Regions from separate parts of the Homo sapiens genome. Here region 2 is linked to region 1. The links are contacts of gene promoters, found by promoter capture Hi-C in blood cells and fetal thymus (Javierre and others, 2016). All regions are on one chromosome and are shown on one strand. Each heading gives the region's core, a stretch centred on a gene start or on the middle of the fragment in contact. The rest is flanking DNA. Distances are from core to core; before and after follow the strand shown. Region 1 holds the start of ADAMTS16 (ADAM metallopeptidase with thrombospondin type 1 motif 16). Region 2 overlaps LOC101929200 (a long non-coding RNA gene).

Region 1 (3,578 bases), core at 921-3,420:
TGTCCAGACTCACACATTAGCCATTTATAATTAAGGAGCTAAAGTGCATAGAAGGTAGGGGAGGAGGGTGTGTGCTGTGTCCACTGGGCTAGAACTTCACTAAGAAGGGTTTGCCTCTTCCCCTTCAGGTTCTTACCAAGCCAGATAAGTGGTTGTCATGGAGACGATACGTTGTGACAACAACTGTGGTGCCAGGTGTTCAGAGCAGCACACTGGCACCCCACTCCCAGAGAGGATGCTGAAGCAGATTGAATCACTTTAGGAGAAAAGCACACTTAGGCACGAAGCCCTGGCTTTTCTTCTTCTTTCTTCTGTGTCTATAATGTGTTTTATCTTAAATAAAACTTCATAAATGCCATAAACTATTGTGGAAATCTCCTGAGTCCCTCTGGAATTTTCATGGTTTTAGGGAACTAGAATTTTTTTTTTTTTTTTTACAAAAATCTTACTTAAAAAGGTGAATTAGAATTAACCTTTAAAATTGTAAGAATTAACTTTTAGTATTGTAAGCAAAACCCTAAAAAGGACAAGGACAACCACAAGAGGATAGTCTGTAAATGGACAGATAATTAACTTTCTCTTGTAAATTCACTGTGACAATTTTTTTTAACATTTTATATCATTTGCACCTAGCGCCCCCTGGTGGTTCTCAAAAAGGTACTATGGTGAGCGTCAATCTGACACCGGTCACCTTATATACTATTTGTGTACTCATTTGGCAGGGAATAATTTCAAAAGTTAATGCATATATTAAGTGCTTGCCTTTATGTTATTTTATCAAATTGAAATAACTATACTGAGAAATTCTGAATTGTTAACTTTAATTTTCTAGATCTTCTGGAAATACATTGAGAGAATGAAACCTAGTTCTTCCTATAAAAGTCAATTAATATTAACATTTGATACGGCAATTTATTGTTGGTAACAATGCAAAATAATATTTATTAACTGTCATTGGATGGGTTCAGGTTAAAAAACCACCTAGCAACCAGTGCGACACACCTGCGTTCTCATTTACCTGATGCAGTATGAAGACACAGAGATCCCTTTCCATAAGACAGCAAATTTCCAAATGTCACTTGTAAGTGGCAGAAGTAAAAGCATGCATTGAAAAAGAATAAGACTTGCCCTCATGTCAAATTGTGGCCCAGGATATGAACGTTGCTGATGGTGTCACAATCAGCTGATTAGCCATTTCAGGCACTATTATGTTTGAAGTACGCCCTGATTGTTGGAGCATTAACTTTGGTATTGAGATGCTAAGCGCTTCTTTTATCTCCTTCACTGAGAATAAGCAACGATAGAGGAATATTTTAATCTATAAAGGAGGAGAAGGAGGAAAGGTTGGGGACGGGAAGGAGGATCCGAGGATGTAGAAGGGGACGGAAAAGAAAGTAATTTGCTCTTTATGACGGCTTTGATGCATACATTAATAGCTTTAGATTCTTCCTAAGCTCTTTAGAATAAAATAAAATGAACTTCCTCACCTTTTTCCTAATGTTATATCAATAACTCTGGCAAACCGTTTTGCCAGGGAATAAAATGTAAATATTGGTGGAAATCCACTCATCGGGGCTCGCTCATACAGTTAAAAAAAAAAAAAGTTCACAACAGCATCTTAAAAGTAGGGTTCCACAGAGTCGTGAACATTCACAGCACCTAATAAACCAGCGGCACGGAGATTACGAGCTGCTAAATGGCAAGGATTAGAAGCCCCCACCTCACGGACTTACCGCCCTTTTCCATCCAGCCCGGCCGCTCCGCGGGTGGAGGAGGACGCGGGACGCTCGGGCTCCCAGGCGCTGCCGCTGCGGGTCCCATGGCGCACGCAGGTGCCTGCGGAAAACAGCGGCGACATCGCGGTGAGACGGCGGGGTCCGCGGGAGAGGAGCCGCGGGGGACTCGCCTCCAGCTGTCCGGACCCGCGGTTTCCGCGCTGGTGGGAGCGCCCGGGACTCACCTGCTCGGCCACCTGCGCCAACAGCATCCACAGCGCCGCCAAGCCCCGCCATCCGCGCGCGCGGGGCTTCATCCAGGAGCGCTCCGAGGGGCTAGGGGCCACCGGAGGGTCCCCGGCCGGCAGCGTGCGAGCGGGCAGGGAGGACCCGACCCAGGCAGAGCGCGGGAGGATTCCCCACAGCGACTCCGCCGCCGCGCCGGGGTTATTACTGAAGCTCCGTGCGGCGCGGGGGGCGGAGTGGCAGCCGCGGCGGCGGGGGCGGCGGGAGCGGTGGGAGAGCGCGGGGCGGGCAGGGGAGAGAGGAGGGGAGGAGGTGAGGGCGGGGGGGTCAGAGGACCGAGGAGGGGAGAGTGCAGGGACAAAGAGCAGAGGGGAGGAGGCGAGGTCAGCGGGGCGCTGAGGCGGAGGCGAGCGGGGAGCAGAGGGAAGGCGGGAGACAGCGGGCAGCGCCAGAGGAGGAGGACGCGGGAAGATGGAGCTGCCCACGGCCTGCAGTCCGTGCCTCTCTGCCCGCGCGGGGACCACACAGTTGGAGAGGCTGCCGGGCACCGGCGCGGGCGATGCTCAGCATGGACCTCCGGCCGGTGCGCGCTCCTGCCCTGCCTTGGGGCTGGGGACTCGGCGGGACTCCAGCTACTGCAGTGGCTCCGCGGGCTCCCACCTCCGGGCCGCACCGGCGCCGCCAGAGGCCGGGACACCTGCAGCCCGCGGAGTGCGGTCTGGCCGCGCCTCTGTGCCCGGGCACAGCTGTGGGGACACTGGGTGCGGAAAACCGGGCGCCAGGACGTGGGAGAGCCGCGGACCTGCCTTTAAAGGCGCGTGCCTCGCTCTGGAGTTTGCGGAGCGATCGGAGACGGGGAGGCTGAGGAGGAAACTCTTCCCCCGCGCCATTTGCCCCGAGATGTGGCGGCGCTCCTGGCCCCGCGGTCACGGCCACCCTCAACTGGCCAGGCCGCGGAGGCCGGTGACTGGCTGCTGGGTGCAATCCCTAGGGAGGTCTCAGGGCTGCGGATGGGCCTGGGTCTCGGCCGCCACGGGGGTCGATCGGGCTACTGTGTGGACAGGGTGGCCAAGGAGGCAGCAGGTGTGCGGTCAACAGCCTGGCCAGAATTCTGCTGTAGCTGGATGGGGTGTGTGAGCGCGCGGGTGTACATGTGCCTGGGTGTGCGCGGGTGTACATCCACACCTGACTGCGTGTGCGCGAGTACACGCTGTGAGCCCATAGTGTGTCTGGAATTGGTGGGTTCTTGGTCTCACTGACTTCAAGAATGAAGCCGCATACCCTCGCGGTGAGTGGGTACAGCTCTTAAGGTGGTGCGTCTGGAGTTTGTTACTTCTGATGTTCAGATGTGTTCGGAGTTTCTTCCTTCTGGTGGGTTCGTGGTCTCGCTGGCTCAGGATTGAAGCTGCAGACCTAGGCGGTGAGTGTTACAGCTCTTAAGGCAGAGCCTCTGGAGTTGTTCGTTCTTCCCGGTGGGCTCGTGGTCTCGCTGGGCTCAGGAGTGAAGCTGCAGATCTTCACGGTGAGTGTTACAGCTCATGAAAGCAGAGTGGACCCAAAGAGTGAGCAGTAGGCCGGGCGCGGTGGCTCACGCCTGTAATCCCAGCACTTTGGGAG
Region 2 (3,550 bases), core at 356-2,855, 240 kb before region 1:
AAAAGCTGATTCACTTGAGTGTGAAATGAGAATTAACTTGCTTTTTAAGACTTTTTGTAAAGTAATTGAAACGCTAGGGCTTTACCAGAAGCCTGGGGTGGGACAACGATGAAAATGAATATAGCGCTCATTCAGGCAATTGAGATAATTTAAAATCGGTCCCAATAAGTTCATTTACTTTCCTGATCTGAGTATTGTCATTGTTTAGCAGGTCCTGAAGAAAAAATTCGCCTTAGTGACATTCCTGCTCTGGTGACCTTAAAATGTGTAATTGACCTAGAAGTTCGTGATGATGAGTCTCTTTTTGGAGCAGTCTTTTTGGGCTTTGGTTTTTACTCTGAGATTCGTCTGGTGACATTCTTAACCATTTGAGTCCCTTAGAAGGGTGCATAGATCAATTTGAACCTCTGAAACAGTTGCTTTTGAGTCAAATCTGTAATGCATCTGCTCATGTTCTCTTTCTTTCTTTCTTTTCTTTTTTTTTTTTTGAGATGGAGTCTTGCTCTCTCACCCAGGCTGGAGTGTAGTGGTGCAATCTCAGCTCACTGAGTGCAGTGACATGACCTCAGCTCACTACAACTTCCACCTCTCAGGTTCAAGCAATTCTCCTTCCTCAACCTCCCAAGTAGCTGGGATTACAGACACCCGCCACCACACCTGGCTAATTTCTGTATTTTTAGTAGAGATGGAGTTTCGCCATGTTACTCAGGTTGGTCTCGAACTCCTGACCTCAGGTGATCCACTTGCCTTGGCCTCCCAAAGCACTGGGATTATCACGCCTGGCCCTATCCATGTTTTCTCACACCTGGCTCACCTGGATGTGTGGCTGTCTTCCTCCTTTCCCTGCACATCCTGTGCCAGTTCCTCTACAGGTACCTGAACGACTCCTATTACAAAATCTGAAAATTAGTGAAAGACACAGAGATCGACCAGAAGGCCTACATGGCCCAGGTGGAAGGCGTCATCAGCGGTACCTATGACTAGACCCAGCTGTCTATGACAGTGGCCTGTGACAGTGGGCCACTTGTGTACCCAGCTGGTTTTGTGTCCATCTTTATGGGGCTGTTCTATGCCCCTGGCCGAGGCACTGACATTCACATGTCCAGAACATCTTTGCTGTGCTCTGCCTGGCCACCTTGCTGCTTGTCTTCTTGATCTACCTCCAGACCTACAAGGTACCTCCCTTTATCTTATTTTTCATGTGCCACGCCTCTTACTGTGTCCACTGCACCTTTGTGCTGTGGCTCTCCTATGACCCAGTGCCCTCGGTATCAGCCTCCTGCTGGTCCAGCGCTGGGGCTGGGGCTGCTGGTGTTCCAGCCTGGCAGCCTCTGTGAAGATGAAAGTGCTGCTGTTCGCCCCTGGGTTACTGTTTCTTCTCCTCACACAGTTTGGCTGCCGTGGGGCCTTCCCCAAGCTGGGCATCTGTGTTGGCCTTCAGGTGGTGCTGGGGCTGCCCTTCCTGCTGGAGAAGCCCACTGGCTACCTGTCTCGCTCCTTTGACCTTGGCCGCCAGTTTCTGTTCTGCTGGACAATGAACTGGTGCTTCCTCCCAGGGGCTCTCTGCCTGCACCGTGCCTTCCACCTGGCCCTGATGGCCACCCACCTCACCTTGCTCTTGCTGTTTACCCTCTACTGGTGGCCCAGGATGGGGGAATGTATCTTGTCACTGATGAAGGATCCCTCCAAAAGGAAGGTTCCACCCAAGCCCTTCATAGCCAACCAGATCGTTTCTACCCTCTTCACCTCTAACTTCATTGGCATCTGCTTTAGCCACCTCCCTCCACTACCAGTTCTGTGTCTGGTATTTCCACACACTGCCCTACCTCCTGTGGGCCAGGACTGCACACTGGCTCACACACCTGCTCAGGTTGCTGGTGGTGGGGCTCATGGAGCTCTCCTGGAACACATACCCCTCCACATCCTACTGCTCTGCTGCCCAGCATGTGTGCCATGCTGTCCTCTTGCTGCAGCTCTGGCTGGGCCTGCAGCCATTCCCCAAGAGCATCCAACACAGCAAGAAAGTTCCCTGAAATCCACCCCTTTCCCTCCAGTGCACTCTCAGGACCTGGGGGAGTGAGATAGACTCTGTGCCCTTCCAAATAAACCTTGCCAAGTCCAATACACACACACAGACACACACACACACACACACACACACACACACACACACATAGACTTCCTCTCTCTATATATAGAGGGATTCACACAGGATGTGCATGGAAAGGCAACAGACAGCCACACATCCAGTCAAAATCACTAGGACTTTTATGTATCTCGATCAACAATGCTATGGCTACAATATTGACACAAAGACACAGAAGGAAGCTGAATTCACAGGAGTACACAGGGATCTTGTATTGTCTTCTGGATTAATCCATTTGTATAAAGTATGCTAATTTTACAGGAGTTGGTTTCCAGCTTTTGGACCAAATTTTGAACATTCTAAACTGGTTAATTTGAGCCTTTCAGAAATTATAATTTGTTCTATATATTTTTAAAATATCCACTTTTGATTGAGTCACTTATATGTTTGTATTCTTAGAATGAGTGACAGCTAAGTAATTGAATTTACGTGCTCTATCATTCTAGTTTAAATATTCAGTTTCATTTTGATATAAATAAATACATGAAATATGAGTATTTGAAGTTTATTGTCTAAAAAATTTAGTTGCATCCTTTCCTTGGGATATTGTCTTTAATTTTTAAGCTCAAAAGGCCTGGAAAAACATGCTTTCAATAATTCCTTATTGATTTTTTAACTATCTAAAAATATGTAGAAAAAGTTTGGTTAAAATAAACCAAAGACTTGTTGAAATTTCTTCGCTTTAAGTTGTTGTTCACCTGTCAATCTATCCAAAAGAGATAGGATGGCAGGAGGGAAGGAGAAAAGGAAGAGAGAGAGTAAAATTAGACCATCAGCTAATTACACGATGAATGATTTAACTACAATTGGAATAATGTGCTGGAAATTAACGAGGTGAATGGAAGAAATATGTACAAGAATGCCTCCTCATTAAGTCTCAAGGAACCATGTGGGGGAAGATGTGAGCTTGACCACACTCAGCACCAGGGAAAGTCTGCTCAAAATGAGGACTCAACATCTCCCTAATCCTTTTTTTGAAAATAACCAAATATTTTAAAACGTACTGATTTTACCAACTTTTTTTATTGCCACTTTTCTGCAAATGGAGCATGACTCACTTCCTTTGGACGAGAGTGGTCCGTCCCCTTTTCTGCTGGTCTTTGCTTCTCCCATGGGCATTGCCTTCTTCTTAATTTGTTTGGTGCCCGTATCTTCTCCATTTCCTTTTTCCTTTTTCCTGAGCACAGGAATACTCACCACCTGCCCACATGGTCTCCCTCTGTAATCATAGGTATATTACTTTCTCTTTAATACAGCCATCCCCTTTCTCCTCTCACATCCACAGACACTCACAGACTTTCCCACTCCACTCAAATCTATCTCACATCCTCCAGCTAGAACTCCCCCGTCACAGCTGGAGGAGCCAGCTCATACTTGGGGAGATTAGGTCACCGTGGCTTGTCT

Evidence for each region. Contacts are between HindIII fragments. The CHiCAGO score rates a contact against its expected background, and 5 or more counts as called.
Region 2: a fragment that was not itself captured here is called in contact with the fragment with the promoter of ADAMTS16 in region 1 in 1 of 17 cell types (megakaryocytes); the score reaches 5.6 in megakaryocytes.

What each region holds. Positions count from the first base shown.
Region 1 is chr5:5,138,922-5,142,499 of GRCh38, reverse strand. ADAMTS16 (ADAM metallopeptidase with thrombospondin type 1 motif 16) reads right to left here and starts at 2,170. Exons shown (of 23, transcript NM_139056.4): 1 at 1,961-2,170; 2 at 1,734-1,836. The coding sequence starts at 2,032. ADAMTS16-DT (ADAMTS16 divergent transcript) reads left to right here and starts at 2,446. Exons shown (of 4, transcript NR_109915.1): 1 at 2,446-2,544. ADAMTS16-AS1 (ADAMTS16 antisense RNA 1) reads left to right here. Exons shown (of 2, transcript NR_198969.1): 2 at 129-362. RefSeq lists an enhancer at 2,398-2,964. The HindIII fragment of the contact is 3,896 bases long and covers 1-3,578 here.
Region 2 is chr5:5,374,204-5,377,753 of GRCh38, reverse strand. All of the region lies in intron 2 of LOC101929200 (a long non-coding RNA gene), which reads left to right. It also overlaps the pseudogene ALG3P1. Among named protein-coding and RNA genes, the nearest start is that of ICE1, 47 kb to the left of the region's middle. The HindIII fragment of the contact is 5,761 bases long and covers 1-3,550 here.